Regions from separate parts of the Homo sapiens genome. Here regions 2, 3, 4, 5, 6 and 7 are each linked to region 1. Evidence: promoter capture Hi-C in 16 types of primary human blood cells and fetal thymus (Javierre and others, 2016). All regions are on one chromosome and are shown on one strand. Each heading gives the region's core, a stretch centred on a gene start or on the middle of the fragment in contact. The rest is flanking DNA. Distances are from core to core; before and after follow the strand shown. Region 1 holds the start of CCDC184 (coiled-coil domain containing 184). Region 2 overlaps VDR (vitamin D receptor). Region 3 has its middle 16 kb from the start of OR5BS1. Region 4 overlaps HDAC7 (histone deacetylase 7). Region 5 overlaps VDR (vitamin D receptor). Region 6 holds the start of C12orf54 (chromosome 12 open reading frame 54). Region 7 overlaps VDR (vitamin D receptor).

Region 1 (2,700 bases), core at 52-2,551:
TGGCTTCCGATCACTTGGCTTCCCTAATTTCCTAGGGTCATTATTAATTATTGTGCTCTGCCCAGGTGCTGATTCCTTCTCAATCTGCAATCATCTACGTATATTAAAGACAATTTTTCTTCTTCCTCCACCCTTCCTGCTCCACCCCTTAAATAGGGAAAGGGCTTGTCACAAAGGTTGGGGATACTCAGTGTATGTCTGAACTTGGGCACTGAAAGAGAGAGCGGGAATTACTCTAACACACAGTCCCCCCATCCATACCCTCCACACAACGGTCAACAGTTTACCTTTTCACCTGTGAGATGATGCAGACTGTTATTCAGAATTAGAAATAGTATTATAGATTATCCAGTCCAATTCCCTAACAGATGAGGAAAATGATGTGGCCAAGGTCGCTGAATGAATAAGTGGCAGAAACGAAACTGAATTCAGGTCTCCTAAAACCCACTACGTTTGGCTTGGGGAGTTCTGGATGAGAGCGTGGGACTTGGTGGTTTTTGTTATTCATTCAATAACTATATTAAGCATCTACATACTAGGTGCCAGGCACTATTTTAGGAGCTGGGGATTCCGTGATGGAGGGTGCAGGGGAGACAAAAATCTCTCCCCTTATGGAGCTTTCATTCTCAAAACTTAAGCACTTGGCCTCCCCATCTGGGACAAACTCCCAGAGACCTGCGTAGGAGCGGTAGGGTCTCATAAAGGAGGGAGTCCCATCCTTCCCCCGCTCCGGTGATTTCTATAGCTAGAGGGCTGATTTACTGCAGAAACCTCCGTAGCGCCCTCCTCCTGCCTCTGCACCGTCAGGCCCGGTGGGTCCGGCTCCAGAGCGCCACCGTGCCCCAGCTCAACTCTGGGATCATTAGCAACAGCCTCTCTACCCTCTCCGCTTTCCTGCGCATCGCTGGAGGACAGGGAGGCAGGACTCGACTTTAGCGCCATCCTCTGAGAAAGGAATGCGGGCTGGAAAAATCTTTCCAGGGCAGTCTCGCTGGGTCTCATACCCCGGCTAGGGGAGGGACGATCTCTCCCGGACTTGGAGGTTTCTGCAGCAGACGGCTCTCTCATACTTCCCTATTAAACATTGCGACCACACGCTCTTTCCAGCCTTGGCCGAAGCCACTGTAGCGTCCCCTCTCCTCCCCCCACCCCGCTAGTCCAGACTCCAGAGCCCCACTGCAGCTTCCAGCCATCCTCCCTTTTTCTTCGCCACTTCCTGGTTACCATGGAGACACACGTCATTTACGTGCCGTGCGTCGCCTTGGAAACAGAGGAGCATCCGCGACACCCCCGGGAGACCCACCCCAGCTGCTGCTGCCACACTCGCGGGCGCTGCCCGGTAATGGCCTGGGGGAGTCCCGAGTCCGACGCGCCGCTGGCCTCAGCCTGGACGCGGACCCCTCCGCGAGCGCGTCTGTGACCCACGGAACCGGCAGGCGCTCTCTGCTTGTGGCGCCCAGAGGGCGGCGCTGACACGGGCGCGATCCGGGAGGCGAGGCAGGGCAGGGCACTTTCGTCCCGGGGCGATCCCAAGAGACGCCGGCTCTGGGACCCTCGCCGGGTCCTCGTCCCGCAGCCTCTTCTCGGCCTCCCGCGATCCTGCCTGCGCCCTCTGCCCAGGACTCGTCTCTCACGTCGGCTCCCCGCCAGTCTCGGGAGCCTCCGCTTCCCTCGGCTCCCGCTAGCCCCTCCCGGGACCTCTCCCCCTCCACCCCCTCCCCCACCCCGGAGGCCGGGCTGGACGCGACCCAGAGCCTCCGCCACCCGCTTCTGCCACTCAATGGAGGACGGTCTGCTGGAGATCATGACCAAGGACGGCGGCGACATGCCGGCGCCCCTGGAGGTGTCCACCGTGCCGGCAGTGGGGGACGTGATCTCCGGGGAGTACAACGGCGGCATGAAGGAACTGATGGAGCACCTGAAAGCCCAGCTGCAAGCCCTGTTTGAGGACGTGAGGGCCATGAGGGGGGCCCTGGACGAGCAGGCCTCGCACATCCAGGTGCTCTCGGACGACGTGTGCGCCAACCAGCGAGCCATCGTCTCCATGTGCCAGATTATGACCACTGCGCCCCGCCAGGGCGGCTTGGGCGTGGTCGGCGGCAAGGGGAGCTTCCAGAGCGACCCCCAAGAGCCGGAGACTCCTTCGCCTGGGATCGGGGACAGCGGCTTGCTGGGTCGCGATCCCGAGGACGAGGAGGAAGAGGAAGAAGAGAAGGAGATGCCCAGCCCCGCCACACCCTCCAGTCACTGTGAGCGCCCCGAAAGCCCCTGTGCTGGTCTCCTTGGGGGGGACGGGCCACTTGTGGAGCCCCTCGACATGCCCGACATTACCCTGCTGCAACTGGAGGGCGAGGCCTCCCTGTGAGGGGACTCCGTGGGGCACTACCTTCCCGGGCTGTCTTTGGGTTTCCGAGTGCATGACGCGAGGGGGACTGAACGGCGCGGTGCGGCATGCTTCACTTGGACAGCTGCTCTTGTGGGTCAGGCAGAGAGAGACTCCCTCGAGGAAGGATTTGTAGGGTGAAGGACTTTGGGAGCATCGAGAATTCTTTCTGCCCAACTAAGCGAATTATAGCGAACTGCGGAAAGGTGAGGCTCCGGGAGAGGAAGCGCCCATCTCTGGACTCCCATCCATCCCTATCCTGTCCTTTCCCCCTTCCCAGACAACAGGAGAACCCGTGAATTGTGTAAATAAAATTC
Region 2 (2,700 bases), core at 158-2,657, 300 kb before region 1:
AGGGTGGCAATTGCCAGGTGTCCTGGGCAGAGCCCTGGGAGGACAAAAATCAAAGTCCCTCATGGCTCAGTTTAACTCCACATTGACTGGACCCTCCTAAGGGTGGTAAAGCTGTGACTCTGAGAAGGACCATGGAGTGGACAAGAAGTCTGACCGCTAATGTCTTTTCTAGCTCTGAGAGCATGCAACTCCAAGACTGGAATTCCCATCATGAGAAGCACTATTTTTTTTTCTTTTTAAGAGACAAGGTCTCCTCTGTTACCCAGGCTAGAGTGCAGTTGCACAATCACAGCTCACTGCAGCCTCTAATTCCTGGGCTCAAGCAATCTTCCACCTCAGCTTCTCAAGTAGCTGGGGTTACAGGTGTGAGCCACGCCAGGAAAGAAGACCTTAAATGAGATGAAGCTTTCTCCCTGATCCCTCATTAGCCAGATGAACCACAACATTCATGCCTCAGTGAGTGAGACTCACTCATCCTCAGATGCCAATGAGCAGGAAGGGCACAAAAGATGTGGCCCCTAATCGACCCCAGGAGAGGGGTCCTCTCTCTGCCAGGTTGGGACTGGAGTGATCTAAACTGGGCTTTCTAATTGTTGACATTGTTCCAAAGTTCCTACTCCTTCTAGAAAGAAATGGAAAGCTAAGCTATTTCCCCACAGAGTGGGAGACAATTCTTCTTCTTCCTAAAATTGCCACACACAGAGTCAACCAAGTGTTGGGCTTTTCCAGGAGAAGATATGCCTGTGTGTCCGCCAGCCACAACCGCACATGTACTTGTGCGTACACACCCTTGTCTTGCTATTTTTCGTTTCATCATCCATTAAACTCTGCCCCATCGAGTGCTAAGCACTGCATGACCTACCTAACTTTTTGTCTTCTCTTTATTCTGGTGCATAACTCAGGCATAATAATATCATGGCCAGCTAAGGTGATACCCTCTCTTTCTTCTCCACCATCCCCACCATGTATCCATTTTCTTTGTCCAGAACAGTCTCAGTACCTCCCAGAAGAAGCTGACAGAGAACAGAGTGATAATAATGGGGAGTGGAGAGGGTTTACTGTATAAATAGAACATATCCAAACTACTTCCTGCCCCGACTGTCTCCCCAGCTCCTTCATACACACATCTTTTAAATATGTGTAAGAACGATTGGAAATTATTTTCTACAGACCACAATGTCCACAGTAAAACCCAAGAGATAACATTCAGCTCTGAAAATCTCAAGATTGGAAGGCAACAGCACCACCTAGTCCAATCATCTTAAATTTCTTCTATGATATTCTAGCCAAACAGTTTTCTAGCCCATGCTTGAATAATTTTCCTAGTGGAGAACCACCTCCCACGGCAATCCACTCTCTTTGGATGGCTCTATGCTTAGAAAGCTCTGTATCATGCACAGATGGAACAGCACCCCATAGCTTTCAATGGCTCCTCCTAGATAGCTCTTTGTAGCCATGTTAGACAAAGCTACTAGGCCATTCGCACAGGAGCTCTAGAGGAGGGCTTAGGGGGCCACCATATGGTACCATATGCACATTAGAAAAAGGAGCCCTGGCCGGGCGCGGTGGCTCATGCCTGTAATCCCAGCACTTCGGGAGGCCAAAGTGGGTGGATCACTTGAGGTCAGGAGTTCGAGACTAGCCTGGCTAACATGGCGAAACCCTGTCTCTACTAAAAAAAAGAAAAAATACAAAAATTAGCCGGCTTTGGTGGCGGGTGCCTGTAATCCCAGCTACTCAGGAGGCTGAGGCGGGAGAATCTCTTGAACCAGGGAGGCAGAGGTTGCAGTGAGCAGAGATCGCACCGTTGTACTCCAGCCTGGGCGACAAGAGTAAAACTCCGTCTCAAAAAAAAAAAAAAAAAAACAAAGGAGAAGAAAAGAAAAATTAAAAAGGAAAAGGATCCCTTTTTCTAAGACTCTTAGACTTTTCTAAGACACTAAGCCCTAAGACACTTCACTTCCATCAGTCAGAAAATTATAAAAATAGAACACTCTATAATGCTTATGTTGTGAGTGAAGTTGCAGGGGAGAAGCAGCAGAAGATAGCCTGGGTTACACTTAATTTTGATTTAGACTCCATCAAATTCCCAGGTTTGATCATGATCCCCACAAGAAGAGTGAGTAAGGTGGTAGCACAGACAGCGTCCACCTTTGTGGCCTGCACCTGGAGAGAACAGTGTCTGTTCTATGGAAAGGGCCCATGGAGCAGTGTGAGTGCTGGGTGTGCTCCCAGCAGGGCTGCCACCTCCTCTGTCTGCCACTTGGCTCTTTCCAGAGGAGGCTGGGCCCCAGCAACGCAGCTCTAAGAACCTCTAAGAACATTTAAGAGGCTCACCAGTTATGACTGACTGAACGATGGGAAATTCAGTGGCTGATGACACAGTAGTTGTAGGAAGGAGTTTACCCCTGAAGCTTGTTCTTCATTAACCCTTTTGGGACTATGCATCACCTTTGAGAACCTGCTAAAAGCCATGGACTGACACCCCCTGCAGTATCAGGGTGTATTAGTCTGTTTTCACGATGCTGATAAAGACATACCTGAGACTGGGAAGAGAAAGAGGTTTAACTGGAATTACAATTCCACATGGCTGGGCAGGCCTCAGTATCATGGCGGAAGGTGAAAGGTACTTCTTACATGGCAGTGGCAACGGAAAAATACGGAAGAAGCAAAAGTGGAAACCCCTGCTAAACCCATCAG
Region 3 (2,700 bases), core at 73-2,572, 360 kb after region 1:
TGAAAATTATAAAACTGAAACCTCAGGAGCTAGTAAAATGGATTGGCAGGAAATTTCAATCCAGTGGCAGGTCCACTAAAATTCAGTTCCACGGTTGCTGCATTAGCAAAGGTAAAAGGAAGCCCAAAGATCTCCTTTGGCTGAGCTTCACATTCTCTGGCCAGGAGACGGCGCTCCAACCAAAGGAAGCTGGGCAACCATAACCTGACACCGGGTTGTAACTATGAGACTAATTACTACTAAGAAGATATTTAGTTAAGTTGAAATGTATTTCTAATATGTAGGCAATTTTAATTTTGATGTAGTTGTTTAATTTTTCTGTAATTAATGGGCCATTGAAAATTGCATTCTTGTTAATTGTTGGAATTTTCTTACTGGCCTTACATGGCAAGTTTTGGTTATTCCTCAGCCATTATATATATATATATATGCCACCTTTTTATGGCAAAAATTACTTTTTGGTTGTAAAGTTGTTTATTCTGTGTTCTTTGCTAATAAAGATTTGTTATCGGCCGGGCATGGTGGCTCACACCTGTAATACTAGCACTTTGGGAGGCCAAGGGGAGCAGATCACGAGGTCATGAGATCGAGACCAACCTGGCCAATATGGTGAAACCCCATCTCTACTAAAATACAAAAAAAAAAAAAATTAGCTGGGCGTGGTGGCTCGTGCCTGTAGTCCCAGCTACTCAGGAGGCTGAGGCAGGAGACTCACCTGAACCTGGAGGTGGAGGTTGCAGTGAGCCAAGATCATGCCACTGCACTCCAGCCTGGTGAGAGAGCAAGACTCTGTCTCAAAAAAAAAAAAAAAAAAAAAAAAGACATTTCAAATGGGGCAAGCTGACTGATAATGGAAGGACGGCAAAAGGAAACATGAAAGTAAGGGGTTGTTAAGTGAAATCATTGAGACATTTTGTAGTGTTAAAAGCAGCTTCCCTTTGAGCCCTTGTTGAAATGGCTCCTGAGGGTTTTAGATCAAGGTGCAGTGTTCCTGTCCTTGAACACTGCTGAGTAGGGAAGAATGTTTGCCAGCTCCTAAGGGAATATTTGGGCTTACACTGGATCTTCAGTTGTCCGCTACCTTTGCAGGGACAGTTCATGGGGCAGCTGCTAGTTCACTAGACTGGATCAAGGGAAGGACGTGTCATACATACCCAGATTGTCTGAGCTCCTGGTTCTGATGTGTTTCACATACACATTGGTGGTTTCTAATCAAGAGAGTGAGCACATGCTAGTATGACCCTGTAGGGGGAAGAATATTGGAGCTCCCTCCAGGGCTGTCTCCAGGACTCCTTGATGGGAGGCAGCTTTTGGCTGTGGTGCATATCCTTACTTTAATGCTGTTGCTACATTTGTATCATTTTTCCTGCAAATCATAGATTTGTAAGCAACGTCATTTTGGGTCCCTGGAGTCTTCTTTATCAATGGAGTCCTGTCTAACTGTCATCATTAGTACAAAAAAACCTCTTACCCTCAGGAAGTCTGCAGTTTATTGGGAGCTGAATAGCAAGTGTGGGGTCAGCAAGGAGGCCCAGAAGGTTAGCAGGGAGGGTTTCTCATGAGCCAAGGGGAGAAATTGTAGGTTGGTCATTCAGACTGCAATGAAGTCTAAATGAGCTAGGGTTATTTTGCCCTAAGCCCATAACCAAAGAGCTTGCTGGGGATTTTGAGAAAGGCGGACATTAGAAGATATCTGGGTTTGAGGAAATTTTTTCTGGAGGGAGAATAAATCATAAGTACTCAAGGACTTGAATAAAGTCTCATAAAACTTCGAAGTGAAAATAATAGATTTTTCTATTAAATAATATAATTAGTATTTAATGGAATAAGCTAATGATATGCAAAATCAACTGAAGATGCAGCATGACTGACCATTAATATATCTAATATTATCTATATCTAACATGAACATGTCCCACCATACTCTCTAATCCCAAGTCCAAGGCTTTCCTGAGCTAAGCTGCAGCTACAGCAATCGGAAGGTGGGAGTGGTAAAGCCCCAGGTCCCATGGAAGTCCCGTCTGCAGCAGCAGCAGCAGCTGCTGCAGCGTGTGTGACCCTTTCTATCCGGGGGCTGAACATGGATGTTCCAGGAACATTAGCACTCGGGTGATGGATATACAGCTGAAAGGTTGGTATTGCCCCATGTAAATGCACCTCTCTATCTGACTCCCAAGCATCTAAGGAAGAACTAAAACAGAGGAAGTTTTCCCTGTCTTGAGGATGGGAAAGCATAAAACTGGAGTGCAGAGGTGGGTGCCTGGAAGTGGGACTGGCAACTTATCTGGTGCTACACTACAGGCGGAGATTCCCTTCTCTCATGAGACTGTTACCACTTAAAGAACTGAAATAGCCAGTCTTTTGCCACAATGAGCAAACGAAACAATAGTACAAACAGGCAATGAAAGACAACCATCAAGAGGAATAATCAGAACAACCCCATTAAAAAATGTTGAAGGAGATACACATGGACCAAAACAACTACCATGGAAAAAAATACATATATATATATAATGTTTTTGAGATGAAGTTTCACTCTTGTTGCCCAGGCTGGAGTGCAATGGCATGATCTTGGCTCACTGCAACCTCCATCTCCTGGGTTCAAGTGATTCTCCTGCCTCAGCCTCCTGAGTAGCTGGGATTACAGGCACCCACCACCATGCCCAGCTAATTTTTTGTATTTTTAGTAGAGATGAGGTT
Region 4 (2,700 bases), core at 69-2,568, 380 kb before region 1:
TGAGCTGAGATTGCACCACTGCACTCCAGCCTGGGCGACAGAGCAAGACTCCGTCTCAAAAACAAAAACAAAAACAAACAAAAAGAATACCTACTTCAAAGAGGTCACCTGAGATTAGCAATGCTGTCTGTGATGCACCCAGCACATGGTGGGTGCTCCCTTGTGGTAGCGAGTATTAGTTTGCCTCCTGTACTTGTCTGCAGCCTCCTTCCTGGCATTAGCGTTTCAGTGTCTGCTCCCAACTCTCCTCCCTCCTCTACCACAGACCATTTTCTCCTGAATGCATGCCCCTGCCCCATCTCTCTCTCTCTCTCTTTTTTTTTTTTGAGATGGAGTCTCGCTCTGTCACCCAGGCTGGAGTGCAGTGGCACAATCTCAGCTAACTGCAAACTCTGCCTCCTGGATTCAAGTGATTCTCCTCCCTCAGCCTCCCAAGTAGCTGGGACTACAGGCATAAGCCACCAAGCCCAGCTAATTTTTGTATTTTTAGTAGAGACGGTGTTTTGCCATGTTGGCCAGGCTGGTCTCGAACCCCTGTCCTCAGGTGATTTGCCTGCCTCGGCTTCCCAAAGTGTTAGGATTACAGGCGTGAGCCACCGTGCCCAGCCCCCTGCCCTATCTCTTATCCCCAGCCTCTCCCAACTATGCTCTCTTCCCTTTCTCTTCCACCTGAACTTTTGTAAGCGAACACCTTATTATGTGCCAGGAGTTGTTCTAAGTACCCTACATTTGCTAACTTATCTAGTCCACATGACAAACCTATGAGGTATTTACTGTTTTATCCCCATTAGATAAATGAGTACGCTGAGGCCCAGCAGTATTAGATAACTTGTCTGAGGTCACAGACAAGTGGCAGAGGTTGAGCTGGGACTTGAGCCCAGGCAATTGGGCTTCAGAATCCACGCTCTCAACCAATACACTCCACCCCTCCTCCCCAGCATTCCCATTCGCCACAGGCCAGCCAGCAAAGGACACATGCAGGACCTAGATGGGCATGCAGAAAGATGGAAAAAAAAAATCACACAGCCCCACAGAGACCCGTGCCAGCAGCAATCCCCAGCCCTGCGCAGGTGAGAGGGCAGAAGCTATGTCATCTTTGGGTGCCCATGAAGACAATCTCAAAGAATCATTTGGAGCAACTGTTGACTTTGTAGAAACCAAGCAATGATTTGGGACTGTGTGCTGGAAACAGGGGGCTGGCAATGGGTTGGGGTCTTAGAGGACCCTCAGCTCCAACTCCCCTGCTCTCAGTGCCCTGCCATATCCCTTCTCTAGAAGCTCCCAAGTCCCTCTAGGACTCTCTCATTAGCGTCCCAAAGCAAGCTGCACCATTTCTCTGTATAGGCAGAGGAGCCAGCTGCCCATCAGGGCAGAGGCTCAGCTGCCAGGTGAGCCAGCCGGGATGTCTGCCTACCCAGACGAAGGCCTCCATCAGTCCGAGGCAAGAGGACAGAGAAGCTCCTGCACACCAAACAGGAGGCTGGATGTAAGGGTGGCAACAGTGAGCATGCCTCTTTCTCCGCCACCTCAGGGCAGCTGGGGCCCTGAGGCAGCTATTTTTAGCTCTTGACACCTGGGTATTTTGCAGCCGCAGGATGTCCGGTTTGGAGTCTCTTTCTGGGAATCCCACATGCGGCTGTTGTAAACAGCCCCACGCAGCAGTGGCCTGAGCTGGGAGCCAGTGTCGCCCCCCCACCCCACCTCCACTTCTGCTGTTTGAGATGAATCAAACAGGAAGCAGATGTAACCATGGCAGCAGCGGCTTGAGCTCCCTGGGGGTGGGAAAGCATCCTCCCTGGTTCTTTGTCCCCCACCCCAGATCCCCAGCTCCACCCTGTGGCCTCTCCTCAAGGATGAAGACCTGGCAGAACCTGAGGCCGGGGAGCTGGGCCATTCTGAGTTGCGTATGGCTGTCGGTTTCTGGGTCTGGCACTCTCTGGAGACCCTTGCTGTCCTCTGACAGAGAAAAACAGGGGTCCTCCCAGCCCTGTCCAACTCCCGGGACCTCTCGGGCCACCACTCAGCCTTCCCTGCAAGTCCATTGTGAAGGGGAGGGCATAGCTACTTCCTGCGGTGGCAGGCCTGGAGGGCCTGCATCTACTTCCTATTACCCATGGCCTTCAGCTTATAGCCTGGCCTGCCCCTGCACTGCTCTGCCCACTTAGGGAATTCCTGAGCCAGTGGGCTCCCCTAGTCCACACTACCCTAAGATTTCTCAGTTCCAAAAAGCCCTCAAAGACATAAGTTCCACATTCATCCTCACTCCTCTGCTCCAGTATCTCCAGTCCCTGAGATAGGAAGTTCACCATGATGTCTAACTACCATCTTTCCTATCATAAGCAAAACATCCTGAGCAGGCAAGATTTGAGGCCCTATCTGTAACATGGGGATAAGTCGGCCAGTTTCTGCCTTCATCTCTCCCCTTCGCCTTTACCCCTCTGGTGCCCCACTTAGACCAGTTGCTCCTTTAGCAGCCAGTGTGAGCCAGTCTTTCTCAAGGGCCAGTGTTTGCCCCAACAGGAAGCACAGTCACCGCCCCAGGCTGCCTCTAGGGGCGGCTCCTTCTCCCCTCTGAGGTGTCACACTCATTCCCTTGCTCTCCTTGTCACCCCAGCTCCTGGGCCCTCCTCATGCAGACCCTGCCCCTCTGTGTACCCTACTCCTGCTTTGCCCACTGGTTCTGCCTCTCCCAGCTGCAGG
Region 5 (2,700 bases), core at 73-2,572, 320 kb before region 1:
CCAGGCTGGTCTCAAACTCCTGACCTCAGGTGATCTGCCCGCCTTGGCCTCCCAAAGTGCTGGGATTACAGGCGTGAGCTACCATGCCCGGCCTTTGTCTTACAATTCTTATATTTCCCCCATAAAGGCTAGACCGGAGGGGCTACCTGGCCGTGGTGTCTGCTCAATAGTCTGACACCAAATATCAAATGCATCCACACAGATTACACCAACTGTGTGCAAATCATTTTCCTGGTTCAGGAAAGGCTAGTGAGTACTCTAGTGCTGCTTGTCTCCTGCAATGTAGTGAATGGCACCTGGCACACCAGAGAGCTGAGAAAGCTGACCTCTTTTATTGAAACAATTGTTATGGAAAGATTTTCAAGACAGAAAACCTTGTAACGGAACACTTTTAACGTCATATAACCTTTCCCTGATGATTCAGAGGTATCATTCTGAATAATTACTGAACATTGCAGGACAAGGTTACAGCCTCAGAGTTGTCAGAGGCTGTCTGCCCCGCATTGCATGGCTTGGCGTGCTGGGCTTTGGAGTTCTTGGGCTGCTTTTCTTGCTTCCAGTGTCCACCTCCCTGTTAAACTATGCGTTGTCTTCTTATTGGTGTCTGCCTCTGGATGTGTGCCTTTCTCCCCCTTAAGACTTACTTCTGATCTCTTGGGAGCTAGAAGTTCTGGTGATCAAGTTTGATGTAATAAAAAGAAAATATTCGTAATGCTGGATGGCACATAAAGAGTTTTTCTATCTATAAGGCACTATTCTGAGAGCCTTTTGTATATTAACTCATATATTTAGCCCTCATGACAACCCTTTAAGGCAGGTGCTGTTGTTATTCCCATTTAGCAGATGAGGGAGCTGAGGCCCAGAGAGGCTTTCTACCTTTCTCAAAGTCACACAGCTAACAGTGGTGAAACCAGCATTTAGACCTGGGCAGTCTGGTTCTGGAGTGGAAGGTCATAACCACTAGCCTCTACTGTGTCTGATTACATCTGGTTATAAGCGGACTTTGGCTTTCAGCCATGGAGTTTTGACAGGCATTGTGTTCCAATCCATCTGAAGAGTGTGAAAATAAAATTAAGTCACAAAGCTTGTAAATTACCCACTTTAAAGAGACAAAGAAAGTTCAAGTTTAACCCTATAACATGATTCCTCCCAGTCACTTGCATCAAATAGCAACCTCCATCTTCTATGGAGGTAACAGAGGAAGAAATGCTGAGATCTACCAGTTTCACACAGGCCCAATCCATGAGCCTTCTGCAAGGCAACATTGCTTGAGGACTGAATAAGTCTAAAGTCTTTCACATATGCAAATGCACTGTGATTTACGAAATAATTTGTTTAAAGATCTTGTTAATTTCATGGGAAATTTCTTATCATTTTTTCAATGGATTGAACCTAAGATGTCATTACTATCATATAGGAAGACACTATATGATATATGAAGCCATTGACCTAGAATAAGAGTAAACAGGTTCTGAAAGAGTGTTGGGCTGTCTGGTGATCAGGCGTCTAAAGTGCATGAGTTTTGGCATGTGGACTTTGTAAAACCTACATGGCTGCTCAGAAGCTTTTTTTGACTTCATTTTAAGCTCCTTGCTGAGTGTGAAATAATTTTGCGCAAGTTATTCCCATGCAAGACATGTTCTCTCCTTAACGAAGCCAAGATCTGCAACATAAACAATTTGAAAACATTTCAAGATGCCAAGGATGGGCTAAGAACAACCACAGGAAGAGGACATAAAATGTTTCCAAATGAACGGCACAGACATGATCAGGTTTGGGAGAATCTTACTGATCTATAGACCTGTGGAAGATATACAGAGAGAAAGAAGCATAATGAGGAGCTAATATTCATTGATTCCACACATTTATTGAGCACCTACTATGTGCCAGGTACTTTACTAACACCAGGGAGAAAAGACATACATCTGTAAAAACATCAAACAAGTTACCACAATGTGTGGTTCTGTGCAGGACAGGTAATAGTATAAGCAAAAAGCAAGAACTCAGTTATAAAATTTCTTGGGTTCCCAGGGTATAAAGTCAACTAAGAATGGAAAAGAGAGAAAATGAGTCTTTGGTGGGACCAAGCTCTCTTCAATCCATCTCTTAGAGCATGTGAAAGTGCCTGGAAATGCACAATGGAGTGAGCTCCGACCCACTGGGGCCACGAGAGGCTGCCTCGGGTGTGGCCCACAAGCCTGCCCTTTGGAAGCAGAAAGACCTAGATTAGAATGAATGCTGATACCATCATCTTATTAGCTGAGAGCCATGATATTTTAATTCCTCTGAGCTTCCTCAGCTATTGAAAAAATAAAAGTATTTACGTATTTAGGGAGTGTTGTGAGAATTTCAGAAGAAAATGCATGTGCTTGATGTGCTATCTGACACACAGTAGTTGGTCAATACACAGGGTTTCTGTCCTCATCCTTTCCCTTCCTGTGCCTCTTCTATGGAAGGCCCACCTCCTTGCTCGGACAGCAGGAGCCTGGGCTTTTAGCTTTCTTCCTGTGGTTTTACAAATATTGAGACACTCAATTGTCTCTGGGATGCTATGCCTTGGGGACAAAACCCAGCCCAGATAAGAAATGTGCAGCTCTCCCAGGGTTCTGAGGCCGGGGGACTTCACACTGGTGAGGCCTCCTGAAGCTGGACTAACCTGAGGCTGGGAATGTCTCTTCCTGGACAGTCTTCCCTTCAGGA
Region 6 (2,700 bases), core at 24-2,523, 300 kb after region 1:
TTGGATAGCAAAAGACTTGGGGTGGTTTGAGAGAGGTAGGAATTGAGTTGGATTATGAGATACATCTGGCCATGAAAGGGTAAAAGTCCCTGTGATGTGAGATGATAAAGGGAGGAGCTTAGACTCCTTATGGAAACTGAGGTAAATAAAAAGGTAGATTATGATGGAAATGGCCCTGCTGGTCTCTTAGAGGGTGGGAGAGAGTAACCTCTAATCAGAGTCTAATTTGAAGCACTTCATGATAGTAAGAAGGTGGTGTGCAGAGAGGGTCCATGGTGGTCTCACTAGTAGCACCTGGAGCTCTAAAATCAAAACAAGGGATGGGACAGTATGCCTTTCCTTTAAAGTCTGCTAAAGACAGGTGGAGCGCCGAGCCAATGTTGACACCTCCATCTGTTGTACATACCCTGGCATTTTGTCGCAGGTTGCATGATTTGTGAGTCCTCTTTAGATTTTAGCCCTCTCCTTCTCCACTCTGCATTTCTGCATGAGGAGTTTTCCCACCATCACCTGGGCAGGCTATGGGACCTGAAAGGTACTATCTCAGGTCCTGTCTGCCTAAACACGCTATACCACAATTCCCACTTCACCACGACCTCCCCATGTAGGCACAGTGCTCTCTCTGAGGCTGCTCCTCCAGGGGTCTAGTTTCAAGGGAGAAGCTGGCCCTTGGTTCCTTCTGTTCTTAGATTTCTAGACATATTGGGATATTTTATATGCACCATCACCAAAAGGAAGCAGGTCCCAGAGTTGCACACCTACACCTAATGCCTCTTCCCTAATTTTCACTTCCTGCCTCCGTATTAAAACCCTATACTTTCTTCAGAAAAACTGTTTTCATCCCTTCTAAATCTAAATGGTTTTAAATCCATGATCATTCACAAATCTTTGGTGATTTTCTAGGTCAAAGACTTTGGGAATTCACAACAAAACCATTTCTCTCTGAAGGACCTAGCTCTTGAAATTGAAAGCCAGATTTCTCAGACCTGATTTTGAAATTCAAAGTAAAAACTGGATTCTTCTGGCCTCATTCCTTTCATCTCTAAGAATCAATGGATTTCCAATGCAATGGGTAGAAGGCAATGAAGAAGCAAAAATTCCCAGAAATTAAAATTAAAATCCCACAACATTATCCCTCCATTTTACCATTATCGTTTGGATTGAATGGAGCCTAGTGTGTGGCTGGGAGGGAAAGCAAGTTGTCCGTCTATGAGGTCACAGCTGAAGTCACAAAGTATTGAAAATGGCAAGGTTGATATGGGAACAGGAGGCTGTTGTGAGATGGGGCTCAAATAGGAAAAAGTCTAGGGGTGAAGGAGTGGGGCAAAGTGTAATTTGGGGAACCAAGCAGGGTAAGTTTCTAGGCATAATTGACCTCGTTCTTGACTGGGGCTTGGAGGCCAAGAAGGGTGGGAGTGGGAAAAGTGGGAGGGAAACTTCTCAAAGGAGGATTTGTCTCCTGTCTGGGCCACTGCCTATGAGCCCTTCTTCTCTACAAAGCACTTTAAGGCTGGAGCTGATGGCCCTCCATCCTGAAACTCCTCTATCCTTAGTTAACCATGAAAATTCTGACTGAGGTGGGAGGGGGTGGGGTATTTGACAATCTTGCATTCACTCTACACTATTTCCTGTCCTTGCCTGAACTCAAAGACCCTTTGGCCAATCCCCCATCCCCAATCTCAGCCAACTTATTTTTCACTTAGATTCTCTCTTTTTTTTTTTCGTCTACTTCCTCACTGCAATTTCTGTTGTTACTGACAAAGACTATAGGAAGATTTTACCCAGGGCAAATACTTCCTTCCTCTTACCCTCCTCTTACCTTCATCTTTCCTTATGCATATGTACATGCATATGCACACATACATGCACATATATGCAAGCACACACATGCACATGCACACTCACCCATTCAAAATACAAATGCTCCATTAACTGCTGGTAGTTCTCCACTGAATAAGCGCTTTTCTTCTCACCATGTACCTGCCTTCTCCGCATATTCATTTATGCCTCTCCAGGGCCTGGAGCTATCTCCATCTTCAGCTCCAGAGTCCTTGGTTTCTGTCTGAGAACAAATGGCACAGCATCCCTGCCAGGATCAGGAACAAAAGGTAGAAATGACCTCCAAGCAGCAGAGAAGGTAATGGGGCTAATGATGACCCTCAAACATCCTTAGATTGCTATACTCTATGGGAGAAGAACCAGGGCCTCCTGTCTTCTATGGCTCTTCATTTGGCTTCACTTGCTTCCTGGCTGAATAAGATGGGGACTTTCATGTGTCCTCCCTCTTCTCCATCTCCTTAATGAAAGAGATAATAGCAAATCTTTGTCATTTTAATTTAGAAATCAGGCATCAATTGCAATTCCTCTAGGGGTTGGCGGGGTATACAAACTAGGGACATTAATTTATTCCAGGATTGACTTTGCCTAAGTCCTTTATATCCTCTATAGTGTAAATCAAGGTCAACCATCTAAAATCAAGCTTCTCTTGGCCTACAGTGGAAAAGAGGGCTAGAATCTGCTGCTTGAGGCTAAATATGAGACCCAGGTGATGGTATCCATGAAGTCAGAAAAGAAGGAGGGTTTACTGTGAACTTATGGGTCAGGAAAGCTTCATAAGGAATCAGAACTTGGCTTGAGCCTTTGAACTTGCAGCAGATGTTTTGAGATAAGAGTTTGTAGAAATTTGGGGCTGGGTGCAGT
Region 7 (2,700 bases), core at 94-2,593, 340 kb before region 1:
AGTGAGCTATTTATACCACATGATGCTTTGAGCCTATCAACCCCATGGTCTGTGCAGTGTTTTTGCTTTATGTCTCTTTTAAGAAGCAGACTCATTCGAACTACCCCAGGTGTGGCATAGCCCATTGTAAGGGGAGGATGTTCCCTATAGCACTTCCATATGATGTCAAGTTAGTGGCCATTCTGCCCTACAGATCAACAGAAGCACATGACGCCAGCATCCTCATGGAGTCATTCACAATTAGTACCAGATAAGAATGCATTGTGTAGACCAGTGCTGCCCCATAGACTATTCTGCGATGATGAAAATGTCACGCTTGTAATCCCAGCACTTTGGGAGGCTGAGGCGGGCAGATAACTTGAGGTCAGGAGTTCAAGACCAGCCTGGACAACATGGTGAAACCCTGTCTCTACTAAAAATACAAAACTTAGCCAGGCATGGTGTCAGGTGCCTGTAATCCCAGCTACTCATGAGGCTGAGGCAGGAGAATGGTTTGAAACTGGGAGGCAGAGGTTGCAGTGAGCCGAGATTGTGCCACTGCACTCCAGCCTGGGTGACAGAGCAAGACTCTGTCTCAAAAAAAAAAAAGAAGAAAAAAGAAAGAAAAAAGAAAGAAAGAAGAAAGAAAAAAGGAAGAAAATGTTGTGTATTTGCACTGTCTCTTACGGTAGCCCTGAGGTTATCAAATACTGGAACTGTGGCTTGTGCGGTTGACAAGCTAGATGTTTACCTTTATTTCATTTAAATACTCACATGTAGCTAGTGGCTACTGGATTGAACAGTGTAGGCATAGAACCAAAGCTTGGAATATGAAAACTTGAAAACACTTGATCCTAATTATGCAACCTTCCTGGGGTATATTCCTCTTGGTTTACCTGGAAAAGCGCATTATAACACAGCCTTGGAAATTTTGTGTTCTTCTAGGTCAGCTATAAAAATGCTACATAAGATCCTTCTAACAGTGTATCAGAACTCCATTCTCCACATTTCTCCAGCCAGAGACATGCCCATTTATGCAGCTGTTGATTTCCTTTCTCTAAGTCCCTTCATGTTTCACAAAATAACCCTCAAGTTCTAACCCCAATTCCCCTAAGTCCATCTCATCCCACTGAAACACATTTTAGCCTTTGGTTTGAAATATTTTCAGATGTTTCTGAAAAATTAGAGTGAATCACATCCCCAGGCCAACTTATCCTCAATCAATACATTAGCTGGCATGATTTCCTTATTTTCAGATCACAATGCTGTGTTCTTGTTTACTGTGCCTAGCAATGCTACCCTTCATCATAAACCCCACTTCCTTGGGAAGCAGAATGGAGTGCATCGGCATAAGTTGGGCCCCTTAGGAGTCCTGTTTCTGCACAGCAGTCATTTGTAATCCTCCAGGTCACTGGCACAGCCGCCATCTCTAATGGCAGACACAGTTTTGCCAGTAGCTGTTTGGTTTTCATTTTTGAGGGTCTCACGTAGGTGTCATATATTGACTGCACACTTCCTGGGAGTAGAGCACAGTTTGGTCCAGCACCTCTAATTTTCCTGGCTCAGGGCCTGCTTTAGGAATGGGAACCTCTTTTATCTCCTCTCTAGGAGAGAGCTAGCAAGACCATCAGTCGTCTGTCAGGTCCCCCAACTCAATAGGAAGCAGGACAATGTAGCAGTTAATTTGTGGCTTCTGAACCTAGCTGCTGAAGGTTCAAATCCCATCCCTTGCTAGTGTGGCATTGCTCAAGCTATCCTTTCTGTCAAATGGGGGTAATAATGATTCATCTCCCATAAGGTCCTTATAAGGATAAGGCAAATTGGTTTGCATAAAGCATTTATTTACAGCAGTACTTGCAACAAAGTAAGTGCTATATAAGTATGAGCCATTTTTATTACCATAAGCAAAGCTTTCTACATTGGTTGACTTGACAAACTTCTGGCAAACTTTTTTTCTCTTTGGAAATCATTCAGCAGGCACTGTTTACATCCTTTCGCTGCCATATCTCTAGCTTTCACTAAATCTGCCACACATTCCTGCCTTCTCTGTTGACCTCGCTTGGATTCTCCTACATGCTTCCAGTTAGCCAGCCAGAGGATTTTCCTGTCTCTGGGAATCTTGTGGAAAATCTTGCATTTTGGGGCACCTTCTCCTTCAGTTATAATGATATACCTTAAAAGTTTTACATTTACAAATGTCTATTTCACACTCTCATTCTAAAGTAGAATCGATGATGACCTTTTCTCCCCGTTCAGCCCCATAAAAACTCATTTTCCCCTCTTTTCTTTTCCTCCCAGCTCCTAGACTTCCTTTGGAGGAGTGGCCTAGGTGGTGGGGCCCAGGGCTGAGTAACTGATATTTCCAGGAGTTCCCCGAAGAAGGCAGGGCCAGAGGGAGAGCTGGGAAGGTGGTGACATTACAAAGACAAATGCATGTTATAGATGAGGCAACAGCATTATCCAAGGCTGAGGTGGAGAGCCCAGCAGGCCAGGGCCACATCGTGGTGGGGTAGGGTCTGATTCACATTGAGGCAGAGGTGAGTCTCCTTCCTTCTCCTTCTGATGGGTTGGTGGAGTTACAAGCCAGGGAAGGAAGGAAAGGGTCCCAGATCCAGACTTGCTCTTTCTGAAATCCAGGGCTTCCCCCAGGGACTGGGTCAGCCACCTGGGGAATGAGAGTGGGGGTCTGAGCTCAAACATGGTGTAGTGAAAAGGACACCG

What was found. Contacts are between HindIII fragments. The CHiCAGO score rates a contact against its expected background, and 5 or more counts as called.
Region 2: a fragment that was not itself captured here is called in contact with the fragment with the promoter of CCDC184 in region 1 in 1 of 17 cell types (erythroblasts); the score reaches 6.4 in erythroblasts.
Region 3: a fragment that was not itself captured here is called in contact with the fragment with the promoter of CCDC184 in region 1 in 2 of 17 cell types (M1 macrophages and megakaryocytes); the score reaches 5.9 in M1 macrophages.
Region 4: a fragment that was not itself captured here is called in contact with the fragment with the promoter of CCDC184 in region 1 in 1 of 17 cell types (fetal thymus); the score reaches 6.9 in fetal thymus.
Region 5: a fragment that was not itself captured here is called in contact with the fragment with the promoter of CCDC184 in region 1 in 1 of 17 cell types (erythroblasts); the score reaches 6.5 in erythroblasts.
Region 6: the fragment with the promoter of C12orf54 here is called in contact with the fragment with the promoter of CCDC184 in region 1 in 4 of 17 cell types (megakaryocytes, M1 macrophages, neutrophils and 1 more); the score reaches 6.4 in megakaryocytes.
Region 7: a fragment that was not itself captured here is called in contact with the fragment with the promoter of CCDC184 in region 1 in 6 of 17 cell types (erythroblasts, fetal thymus, naive B cells and 3 more); the score reaches 8.8 in erythroblasts.

Annotation. Positions count from the first base shown.
Region 1 is chr12:48,182,343-48,185,042 of GRCh38, forward strand. It overlaps CCDC184 (coiled-coil domain containing 184), which reads left to right and starts at 1,302. Exons shown (of 1, transcript NM_001013635.4): 1 at 1,302-2,700. The coding sequence starts at 1,781. The coding sequence ends at 2,365. The HindIII fragment of the contact is 3,853 bases long and covers 1-2,700 here.
Region 2 is chr12:47,885,476-47,888,175 of GRCh38, forward strand. The region is part of intron 1 of VDR (vitamin D receptor); the gene reads right to left. Among named protein-coding and RNA genes, the nearest start is that of VDR, 18 kb to the right of the region's middle. The HindIII fragment of the contact is 2,009 bases long and covers 404-2,412 here.
Region 3 is chr12:48,542,335-48,545,034 of GRCh38, forward strand. No RefSeq gene overlaps it. Among named protein-coding and RNA genes, the nearest start is that of OR5BS1, 16 kb to the right of the region's middle. RefSeq lists a silencer at 91-200. The HindIII fragment of the contact is 5,711 bases long and covers 1-2,700 here.
Region 4 is chr12:47,806,632-47,809,331 of GRCh38, forward strand. The region is part of intron 1 of HDAC7 (histone deacetylase 7); the gene reads right to left. Among named protein-coding and RNA genes, the nearest start is that of HDAC7, 12 kb to the right of the region's middle. RefSeq lists an enhancer at 2,301-2,370. The HindIII fragment of the contact is 4,820 bases long and covers 1-2,700 here.
Region 5 is chr12:47,860,173-47,862,872 of GRCh38, forward strand. The region is part of intron 4 of VDR (vitamin D receptor); the gene reads right to left. Among named protein-coding and RNA genes, the nearest start is that of LINC02354, 32 kb to the left of the region's middle. The HindIII fragment of the contact is 480 bases long and covers 1,083-1,562 here.
Region 6 is chr12:48,481,225-48,483,924 of GRCh38, forward strand. C12orf54 (chromosome 12 open reading frame 54) reads left to right here and starts at 1,274. Exons shown (of 9, transcript NM_152319.4): 1 at 1,274-1,352; 2 at 2,016-2,137. The coding sequence starts at 2,073. The HindIII fragment of the contact is 2,624 bases long and covers 1-2,477 here.
Region 7 is chr12:47,839,738-47,842,437 of GRCh38, forward strand. VDR (vitamin D receptor) reads right to left here. Exons shown (of 10, transcript NM_000376.3): 10 at 1,800-2,700. It overlaps LINC02354 (long intergenic non-protein coding RNA 2354), which reads left to right. Exons shown (of 3, transcript XR_007063292.1): 3 at 1-371. Among named protein-coding and RNA genes, the nearest start is that of LINC02354, 12 kb to the left of the region's middle. The HindIII fragment of the contact is 1,088 bases long and covers 800-1,887 here.